3 separate regions of the Homo sapiens genome follow, and all the other regions are linked to region 3. Evidence: promoter capture Hi-C in 16 types of primary human blood cells and fetal thymus (Javierre and others, 2016). All regions are on one chromosome and are shown on one strand. Each heading gives the region's core, a stretch centred on a gene start or on the middle of the fragment in contact. The rest is flanking DNA. Distances are from core to core; before and after follow the strand shown.

The links. Contacts are between HindIII fragments. The CHiCAGO score rates a contact against its expected background, and 5 or more counts as called.
Region 1: a contact is called between the fragment with the promoter of ZNF461 here and the fragment with the promoter of ZNF329 in region 3, in 4 of 17 cell types (non-activated CD4 T cells, monocytes, total CD8 T cells and 1 more). The highest score is 13.3, in non-activated CD4 T cells.
Region 2: a contact is called between the fragment with the promoter of ZNF567 here and the fragment with the promoter of ZNF329 in region 3, in 6 of 17 cell types (non-activated CD4 T cells, total CD4 T cells, activated CD4 T cells and 3 more). The highest score is 16.9, in non-activated CD4 T cells.

The regions. Positions count from the first base shown.
Region 1 is chr19:36,665,353-36,668,821 of GRCh38, forward strand. ZNF461 (zinc finger protein 461) reads right to left here and starts at 1,485. Exons shown (of 6, transcript NM_153257.5): 1 at 1,338-1,485. It also overlaps a transcript of ZNF567 not described here. RefSeq lists an enhancer at 1,662-1,791. The HindIII fragment of the contact is 6,595 bases long and covers 1-3,469 here.
Region 2 is chr19:36,685,861-36,689,555 of GRCh38, forward strand. ZNF567 (zinc finger protein 567) reads left to right here and starts at 1,752. Exons shown (of 6, transcript NM_001322917.1): 1 at 1,752-1,774; 2 at 3,537-3,637. It overlaps ZNF567-DT (ZNF567 divergent transcript), which reads right to left and starts at 1,589. Exons shown (of 4, transcript NR_110708.1): 1 at 1,408-1,589; 2 at 826-946; 3 at 1-155. RefSeq lists enhancers at 1,559-1,608, 2,169-2,808 and a silencer at 1,809-1,868. The HindIII fragment of the contact is 4,431 bases long and covers 1,233-3,695 here.
Region 3 is chr19:58,148,455-58,152,105 of GRCh38, forward strand. ZNF329 (zinc finger protein 329) reads right to left here and starts at 2,335. Exons shown (of 4, transcript NM_024620.4): 1 at 2,298-2,335. RefSeq lists an enhancer at 2,412-2,471. The HindIII fragment of the contact is 7,703 bases long and covers 882-3,651 here.

The sequences.
Region 1 (3,469 bases), core at 235-2,734, about 21 Mb before region 3:
TCCTGAAAAATATTCTTAAGTTTGTCTTTGAATACAGACAAAAGGACATAAATATCTTTTAGTAAGAAGTTGCAGAGGCCGGGCGCGGTGGCTCACGCCTGTAATCCCAACACTTTGGGAGGCAGATGCGGGCGGATCACGAGGTCAGGGGCTCAAGACCAGCCTGGCCAACATGGTGAAATCCCGTCTCTACTAAAAATACAAAAATTAGCTGGGTGTGGTGGCGGATGCCTGTAATCCCAGCTACTCGTGAGGCTGAGGCAGGAGAACTGCTTAAAACCCGAAGGCGGAGGTTGCAGTGAGCCGAGATCGCGCCACCGCACTCCAGCCACGGTGAAAGAGAGAAACTTCGTCTCAAAAAAAAAAAAAAAAAAAGGAAGTTGCAGAACAATGTGTATTGTGGCCAAATCTCAGAAAAAAAAAATCAAACACATAGGTACATAAGCATACTACATATGTGGTGTTTTTCTGAGGCTGTAATGATAAATGCGGGGTAGCAATGTGATTTTCGCTTGTGTTGTGTGTGTAAATCTACAGCTAACTCCTCAAGTAGTCAGGAAAGGATGAGAGATGGATGAATGACAGATCTCTGGAGTGGGGCGTCCTGAGCCTTAGATGTGTGCACAGGAGCGGGGTGAGGTGAATGTGCGTGTGTCTGTGTGTGAGAGACCAGAGTTGACTGAGAGGAGTGGAAGCTCTCTGCCTGATCGTGTGAGCCTGAGGATAACGTGAATGTTTTTTTGTTTTTTTTTTTTTGAGACAGTTTCGTTTCACTCTTGTTGCCCAGGTTGGAGTGCAATGGCGCGATCTCGGCTCACAGCAACCTCCGCCTCCCGGGTTCAAGCGATTCTCCTGCCTCAGCCTCCCAAGGAGCTGGAATTACAGACATGCACCACCATACCCGGCTAATTTTGTATTTTTAGTAGAGGTGGGGTTTCTCCACGTTGGCCAGGCTGGTATCGAACTCCCGACATCAGGGCATCCACCCGCTTCGGGCTCCCAAAATGCTGGGATTACAGGGGTGAGCCACCGCTCCCGGCCTGTAAATGTGCTTTTTCTTTCACGTAAATAAATGAGATTTACACAAATAGCCATTCACAATCATGGTCACAGTCACCTACAAACCCCATTTACACAAATGATCAGGCACACAATCACACTGTCACTAAAGCACACCCACGCACCAGGTCGCTGTCCCAACAGTAACACACAGCCCAAAGAGAAACCCTACTTCCTCACGCATTCAAAACACACCCACCTAAGGGCTGATCCCGCACTCAGAGGCCTAAAACTATAGACATTCCCTTCCGCGGCACTGGTGAGCCAGGATTTCTTACCTTCAGCATTCTCAGGGAAGGCTCTGGTCCAAGCTCTGATTCGGATTCCAAGCGAAGCCACACGCCCAGCTCTTCCTTCTCCACCGGCCCGGGACATCCTTACCTGCCTCTACCCGGAGACCATTCCTGCGAGGCTCCTACCGGAAGTAGCTGTGGACAGCAGTGTCCTCTGGGAAATGCAGTCCGAGGGGAGAGCGCCTGGGGTGGAGCGGGTGTGTTCCGCCGGGCTCCGGGATGCACTTGCGCAGTTTCACCCGAGGCTGGAGTGACGCCAACCTGTTAATGTTCGTTTTCGGATTCTGGACTTCGGGTTCCGCTGAGGACGGATTTCGGAATAGGCACAGTGGCTGCCCCGAACCCCTCAAGGCGGCCTCCGCGGGCTGTGGCTGAAGATAATTTTCGGCGGGCGCGGACTAACCCGGCTTCCCTTTGTGGAGTTGTGGTGAGAAAGGTGTTTTGTTGTGCGCGTGTCCGAAGGTGACTCCGGAGGAGAAGGTGGATATGAACTGACGGTGAGGGTGTAGCGCGTGAGATTTGTATGTGAAACGATTTAAAAAAAAATTTTTTTTTTGGCCGGGCGCGGTGGCTCACGCCAAGGCGGGCGGATCACCGAGACCAGCCTGACCAACATGGAGAAACCCCGTCTCTACTAAAAATACAAAATTAGCCGGGCGTGATGGCGCATGCCTGTAATCCCAGCTACTCGGGAGGCTGAGGCAGGAGAATCGCTTGAACCCGGGAGGCAGAGGTTGCGGTGAGCCGAGGTCGCGCCATTGCACTCCAGCCTGGGCGACAGAGCAACTCCTTCTCAAACAAACAAACAAAACTGTATGTCATATATTTGACTCCATTTATTTATTTATTTAGAGACAGAGTCTTCTTGCCCTGTTGCCCGGGCAAGAAAAAACAAACAACAACAACAACAAAAAACTGTACGTCATATATTTCACTCAACTTTTTTTTTTTCTTTTTTTTTTTTTGAGACGGAGTCTCGCTGTCGCCCAGGCTGGAGTGCAGTGGCGCAATCTCGGCTCACTGCAAGCTCCGCCTCCCGGGTTCACGCCATTCTCCTGCCTCAGCCTCCCGAGTAGCTGGGACTACAGGCGCCCGCCACCTCGCCCGGCTAATTTTTTGTATTTTTAGTAGAGACGGGGTTTCATCGTGTTAGCCAGGATGGTCTCGATCTCCTGACCTCGTGATTCGCCCGCCTCGGCCTCCCAAAGTGCTGGATTACAGGCGTGAGCCACCGCGCCCGGCCTCTTTTTGAGACAGGGTCTTCATGCCCTGTTGCCCAGGCTGACTGCGGTGGCGCGATCCTAGCTCACTGCAGTCTCCACCTCCTCAGCTCCTCCCGCATCCACCTCCCAAAGTGCTGGGATAGCAGGCGTGAGCCACCGGGTCAGGCCAAAACGATTTATTTTATTTTTATTTTTTTGGTAAAGACAGGGTCTCGCTATGTTGCCCAGGCTGGTGGTCTCGAACTCCTGGGCTCAAGCGATCCTCCCGTCTCAGTGGCCAAAGTATTGGATGACAGGTGTGAGCCACCGCGCTGGGTGGTGAAACGGTTTTGAGGCTTTTTGAGAATGGCTGTTCTATATGCCCGCGTGGGGCTCATGCGGCGAGCGCCGCCACTCCCGCAGTGGCCCCTGTGGGGGTGATACGTGATGTGGCTTAAATGTGAGAGGCCACCTGGACCCGTGTGATTGCCACGTTTGCAGGAGCGCAGCCACGTGCACAGGGATCTTGTGACATTCTGTGTGAGGCTTTTTGCGCTGGGTCCACCCATGATTAGAGGACTAGTGTGACTGTGGCGGCCCCTGAGAAGGGAAGAAGCTGGTTGCGACCAGGAAGGTCTGAGATGGATGAATGACAGATCTCTGGACCAGGGCGTCCTGAACCTTAGATGTATGCATAGGAGCGGTGTGAGGTGACTGTGTATGTTTGTGTGTGAGAGTCCAGAGCCGACTTAGAGGAGTGGAAGCTGGCACATGTTATCTGCCAGAAGGGACAGATCCATGGTAAGGATTTTTAACCTTGCTGAGAGACCAGTAACTCCATCACCAAGTGTAATATGAGGAAATGGTGCTTGTTTGAGAACAAGTGATTCTGCTTGTGTCTGATTCTCATTCATG
Region 2 (3,695 bases), core at 502-3,001, about 21 Mb before region 3:
ATTCATGTGACAGCTGTCAGCTGTTGGCCTGGTGGAGGCTGGATGGTTCAAGATGGTCTCCCTGAAATTTCTGGCCGTTGTTGCTCACTGGACCTCTCTCTCCAAGTGATCTTTAATGCGCAAGCAAGTTGCTCTTAGCCTTCAGTCATGGTGGTCTCAGGGCAGGAAAAGGGGAAGAGAAAAAGCTGCAAGACTTCCTGAAGCTTTGTCTCAGAAGTCTCACAATATCACTTCCACCACATTCTATTGGTCAAAGCACCTCACAAGGCCCTGCCTAATAGTAACCTAACCACTGACTAGCATTTCAGGAGGAGAAAAAATACTCCCTTGCTGAAAAACAAAATCAAAGAGAACAAAAATAGAAAATACAACAAAACTTCCTTGACCTTGGTTTTCAGATATGCTCAGCAATGGTTCCCTTTCCTCAGGGCTCTTAGAGAACCTCAAGGCAAGGGAGAAGGGGTAAGGAATCATGAGACATCAGACCTTTCTTGGAACCCAGATTGGCTAAATTGGAAAAAATTATTGCCACCACACGAGCTCTCATCATCTACCATAAACATACTCAGATGGAAGTAAAAGGGAGATGGGAGTACTGCTAACCCTTCTTAGTATTCAAGGGAAAGGCCAGGGTCACTGATATCCAGGACTGGGGACTTTCTCAAAATTCACGTTAAGTCTCCTGCGGAGACAGCTCTGGGAATGATGTGGATCACATGGAACCTGACCTCTGAGAGTTCCCAAGGGAGAGCCTCTGAGGAAGGAATCCTACTCCTAGGTTCTCCCCACGACGTCTTCCCAGAACTCTGCTTAAGGGACACTTACAACTCGAAAAGCCTCGTTCCGAAAACAGGTCTGTCCTTTTTCTGTTTGCAGATTTTATTCCACCACTCGATTATCCCTTCCCTTTTTGATGGCCATTTCACTGCAGCTGGGGTCTATACAGCTATAAAGCGGGAGAAAAAAGGAAGCTGGGAACTCAGAGATGCAGAGCCCAAGAAACAATCGAGTCTAAAACTGCCGCTTAGGTGGGCACTCCGCCAGGATCCCCTGTGTCAAACACCAGGCTGAGAACTGGGGACAGGTGTGCCCTGAGAAGACAACGCGGGCCATGCTTCATTGCAAGATGACTCTGCTTAACATAGGCATGGATCATAGTCCTCACAGGCACATTGGGGAGATCTTCGACAGACCCCTCAGTCCCAACATTAAACACAGCACTGCAGAAATGAAGCTTTACCCGTTACACACACAACACCACAGACCTAAAAGGCTCTTCCATCACACGGCCACAGCAGCACTGTCATGATGGAAGGTCTCAAACCCTACAGTGTCACACACCCGACAGCCGACCACGGCCACCCAAAGGTCCCGCATCCGAGCAGGGACAGGAACACAATCACGCACCTGTCGCAGCCTCCTCGCCGCGCACACCGCCGCCTTGTCCTGGCATCAAACACACACGCACAGGTGCATACACAGGCCCGAGCTACGGCCCTGCACACCCTGTCTGCGTCCCGGGAGCTCGGGGCTTCCTCACCGTGAGCGCCGCCCTCATCCCAGCCACGCACTATGAGAATTTGGAAGGGGAACCAGAGATCAAAGTTCGAAAACCGCCCGGGCGCCTGTGGGAAATGTAGTCCAAGGCCGGAAACGCCCGGATGTGGAGAAGGCGCGCGTAGCCGGTGGACAGCAGGAACGCGCCGCGGAGACACCTGGGAGGCATCGTCCGCGTGGGAGTGCGCATGCGCAGACGCCCGGCCGGCAACCGAAGGTGAGGCTGGTGGGTCCCGCGGGCGCGGAGAAGGCGGGTGACGGTGTGACCCGTAAGGAAGGCTGAGGAGGGAGGCGGGAGCCTGGGCTGGGGAAAGCAAGAAGGGAAGAGGAGCAACCTGGGACGAGGAGTTGGCTGGAGGAAAGTGCGAGTCCGGGCCTCAGAGAAGGCTGGGAGGGAAGCAGGAACCAGAGCGCGGGCCCGGGAGCACCTGAAGAAGGGAACCGGTTGCCCGAGGCGGGGGGTGAGCTCCCCAGTGGCAGGAATTTCGTCTGATTTTCGTCCCCTGGCTCCTGGAGCACGGCCTGGCACACAACAGGCGCTCCGTGTGTGTGTGTGTGGCTTTTCGTACCTGTCCTGTGTGTTGTGGTAGGGGAATGTGTTATTCTGTGTGACGTTGTGGAACCGGTTGTTTATGAAAGTGATAGGGTCCCTGCGTGTCTTAAGTTTTAATTTAAATTAGATGCGAGTCGATTTGTGTTTGAGCCTGTGTCCGACTCTGGAGAGGCGACAGTGAGGGCATTGTGAGTGAAAGGTTGTTACTTTTTGTAGAAGTTCTGTGAAATTGTGCACGACGTGGGGGCCTATGGGATTATGACTATGTAGTGGGTGATACAGCTATGAATATGCCTAATTTTAAAAGTATTTGGTGTACACGACCTATGATGACTGTGAATGTGGCACACTGTGTGACTTAGGTGGAGTGCTTGAGAAACCGAGTGTTGACTAAAGTATGCATTGTTTAGATTGATTTATGAGTATTGGGCATTTTATATATGCCTGTAGAATTTGACTCTGGTAATTAGACAAGTAAAATAAGTAGTGATTTTTTTTTTTTAATGGAGAGGAAGAGGCAAAATAATTTTCAGAGGGTAAGATTGGGCCCATGCGGGCCGGGCGCGGTGGCTCACGCCTGTAATCCCAGCACTTTGGAAGGCTGAGGCGGGCCGATCACGACGTCAGGAGATCGAGAACATCCTGGTTAACATGGTGAAACCCCGTCTCTACTAAAAATACAAAAAATTAACCGGGCGTGGTGGCGGGCGCCTGTAGTCCCAGCTACTTGGGAGGCTGAGTCAGGAGAATGGCGTGAACCCGGGAGGCGGAGCTTGCAGTGAGCCGAGATCGTGCCACTGCAATCCAGCCTGGGTGGCAGAGCAAGACTCCGTCTCAAAAAAAAAAAAAAGATTGGGCCCATGCGCGGTGGCTCACGCCTGCAATCCCAGCACTTTGGGAGGCTGGGGCGGACAGATCACCTGAGGTCAGGAGTTTGACCAGCATGGTGAAACCCCGTCTCTACTAAAAAATATAAAAATTAGCTGGGCATGATGGCGCATGCCTGTAGCCCCAGCTACTCGGGAGCTGAGGCAGGGGAATCGCTTGAACTCGGAGGTGGAAGTTGCAGTGAGCCAAGATCGCGCCACTGCACTCCAGCCTGGGCGACAGAACGAGACTCCGTCCCTTCCCTTCCAAAAAAGATCATTTATTGGGAAACCTGGTATTGACTGATGACTGATATGCTTAAATGAATAGAATACCACTGGGACCACACAGAAAAAAACTTTATCTCATAACTGCCACTCTCAAAATTCCTATTTGAGAGTGTGTGTGTGTGTGTGTGTGTGTGTGTGTGTGTGTGTATTTATTTTTTTTTTTGCTGGATGAATTTCTTCTGCTGGAAGCCTGAAATGTGAAAGGATACATGATTAGTTTCTTCTCTAATTCCCCAACCTTTATTTTGTCTCCTCTTTACTCCCTATAGGCAGTCTTTAGCTCTCATGGATTGGGAGCTGGGAAAGGAATGAGAAGACAGAAGTCAGAGACAAGAAGAGGCTAACATGACTGATACCACTATAATTTAGTGTAAGTCATCTCTTACCTTCCAAGAGAACCTGCTGCTTGGAACCTCCAGATACACTTC
Region 3 (3,651 bases), core at 1,085-3,584:
AGATTGGCAGGAAAAAAAAATTACAAATAAAAAACAATTAGTTTTTTGAAAAAAAAAAAGTATACTTGGGTGTGATAATAACACTAGTTTTGTTTAAATGTTCAAATGTTCTTTTTGGCTGGGTGTGGTGGCTCACACCTGTAATCCCACCACTTTGGGAGGCCAAGGCAGGAGGACTGCTTAAGACCAGGAGTTCAAGAACAGTCTGGGCAACATAGTGAGATCTCATCTCTATAAAAAATACAAAATTAAAAAATAAGAACGTTACTTTTCTTATGAGATCCTGGCTGAAGTATTTCAGAGTGAGGTATGATATCTATAACATACTTCCAGTAACTCAGCCAAAAAAACTAAGTGTATGTAAATATATGTCTGTATCACACCTGCCTCTGCAACACCTGCTGTGTGTACAAGTGTGTGTAAAATATAAAAAGAAAACCCTATGTCAGAGGCGTTTGAACCAAAGCAAACCTCCATCTTAAATGGGGACTGGGTAAAATAAGGCTGAAACCTACTGGGCTGCATTTCCAGACAGTTAAGGCATTCTAGGTCATAGGATAACACAGGAGATTTGCACAAGATACAGGTCATAAAGACCTTGTTGATAAAACAGCTTGCAGTAAAGGTGGCTAAAACCCACCAAAACCAAGATGGCAACGAGAGTGACCTCTGGTCCTGCTCCCACTAGCACCATGACAGTTTACAAATGTCATGGAAACATCAGGAAGTTACCCTATATGGCCTAAAAATGGTAGGCATGAATAATCCACCCCTTGTTTAGCATATAATCAAGAAATAACCATAAAAATGGGCGACCAGCAGTTCTTGGGGCTGCTCTATCTATGGAGTAGCCATTTTTTTATTCCTTTACTTTCTTAATAAGCTTGCTTTCACTTTACTCTATGGACTCGCCCTGAATTTTCTTTCCCAAGATATAAGAACCCTCTGTTGGGTTATAGCTCGGGACCCCCTTTCTGGTAACACCTATGCATGTGTCTCAGGCAGGGAGAAGATAAAGATAAAGCTAATGTGGCAAAAAGTGTTAATAATTTTAGAATCTGGATGGTTTTAGAAGTGTTAAACTATTCCTGCAACTTCTATGCAAATGCGGAACTTTTCAAAATGAAAAGTTGGGTGAAGAGAGAGGTAAACAAGCAGTAGAATGGAGGAAAGTCACTTGCTGTGGGAAAAAAGAAAAAACAGACAAAAACTGGGTATTCAAAACGTACTTCAACAAGCCCAAGTTCCTATAGCCAAATTTTTTAACTTGGCAAAAAATAAAGGACCTTTTCAGGCTGATGGTAATTTTAATAAAGGTTTAGGTTGCATTTGTCAAAATTCATCAATGGTACAGGGAATATCTGTGCATTTCACTGAAAGTCAATTTTGGCTCAAAAAATTTAAAAAAGCACTACTGAACTCTAATTCATGGTAAGCATAGTGAGGTGTTTGAGGGAGAAGTGTTGTGATATCTGCAACTTACTTTGAAATGTTTCCAAAAATAGGTGGATTAATGAATGGCTGAAAGGATGGACAGAAGGAAAGATAAGGGATACAGTAAGTTCAGCAGACGTTAACCGGGTCGTTCACTGCACAAGTCTTTCAGCTTCTCTATCTAAACCAACATTTTATGTCATAAAATATTGAGACTGGAAGACTGCACAAAGGAAATATGCCACTAAACCAAGGGAAAAGACAGCAAAATGGTCACTAAACACGTGCAAAAATGCGGCCCTCACTGAGAATTGCAGTAAAACATGATTTTGCAAATATCAAATGGAAAAACACACAGGTGATCTAACACCTTCGAGACTCAAGGGGAAGCGGCTCAGCCCACTGGCTCACGGCCGCCAATTCAGCCGGAGGCCGACCCAAGCCTACACTGCCCCTCACACCTGACAGAAAAGCTGCAGACTCGGGGGTTACCCCCGGAGACGGACCAGGACACCCAGCAGGCGTGGCAAAACAGTCTCTATGGGAGGGCGGGCTAGAGATGCGAGCGCGGAACTCACGGGTGACGCTAAGGAAAGAGCGGGGGCGTCCAGACCAGCCCCGGAGCGACCTCGTCCTCAGAGGAGTGACCCCAATCGCCACGGAGCGTCCCCACCCACCAGGAGAACTACGCCCCTGGCCAGACCCTCGCCCTAGCGGGCCCGACATGCCCACCACCCAGGTGAAACCCACCCGCGGACGCGCCCCTCGCCGCCCCACAAGGACCCGGCGGACCTCCACCCGCCAAGACTTCCCTCCGCAGGAAACGGAGGCAGCGCAGGGCTCAGGGATGCGTCGGCACTTACGGTTGGCGGCCGGCGGCAGCCATGTTCCGGGCGATTGCGCTTGCGCGGCTGCCGGGACAAGGATGTGCGCGTGCGCGGAGTCCCCGAGCTTCCCCCGCCCAACGCTGGGGCGGCCGCGGGTACCGGGTTATTCATTACCCTGGCGTGGACTTGCCTCGGGGCGGACGCGCAGGCATTTACTTTCTCCTATGGTCTCCTCTGATTTTTAACCCGATGCTATCATTCTTTTGTTATAGAGCCTTCCTTTTATTTACTGCATAATTTCCTAAAATATTTCTTTATCTATAATCTTTTTTTGAGATAATAATGTTAAAATTCAGAATAAGTACACTCATTATTCATTGGCAATATAATTATTTACTGGGTGCGTGGCTCACGCCTGTAATCCCAGCATTTTGGGAGGCCTAATTTGTTAAAATGACTAGATCTAAGAAATGTAAACAAAGCCAGTAACTTTCCTCTGTAGTAACAATAGCCGGTTGAAAATGAAAACTACACATTTTCATTCTTTCAGTGGTTCTCTTAAACTTTAGCATGGGGAAGCCTAAATATTTACTGACAGGGAAGAGAGAAACTGTGGTATGTGCAACGGAGCAATAGGGGGTGGTTAAAACAAACGGACTGGGCTCACCTAAGGTCAGGAGTTTGAGACCAGCCTGGCCAACATGGTGAAACCCCGTCTCCACTAAAAATACAAAAATTAGCTAGGCGTGGTGGCAGGCGCCTGTAATCCCAGCTCCTCGGGAGGCTGAGGCAAGAGAATCACTTGAACCTGGGAGGCGGAGGTTGCAGTGAGCTGAGATCGTACCATCACACTCCAGCCTGGGGGACAAGAGGGAGACTTCGTCTCAAAAAAAAAAAAAAAAAAAAGGACTAACTTATATACAAGATAGACAGTTCTCCAAAAACAGTTCGAAAAGTAAACTGTGCACTTATCCACATGATACAACTTACCTGGAAATAAAAGACACAAAATCTATATGTTATACAGAGATTGATACATAAGTAGTAAAGTAACAATAACATGGACCAGATAGATTGTCCAACCTCAAGAAAGTGGCAACTGAGGGGAAAGAGTTGGGGAGGAGACAAAGGAGACCTCAGTTACACCTGTGATGCTTGATAGGAAAAAACAAATCAAAACCTGAAAATCTGACTACATGTTAACACAGGTAAAATCTCGATGATACATGGGTGTCATCTTTATTATTTATAGATTATTCTATTACTCTCCGAACCTCTCCGCAGGTTGAAATACTTCACAATTTTGAAATGAAAATTAGAAAAAAAATTCTAAGCCATAATAGTGATTAAATTGTCACTCACAATAGTGATGGTTGGAGCAACTTGGAAA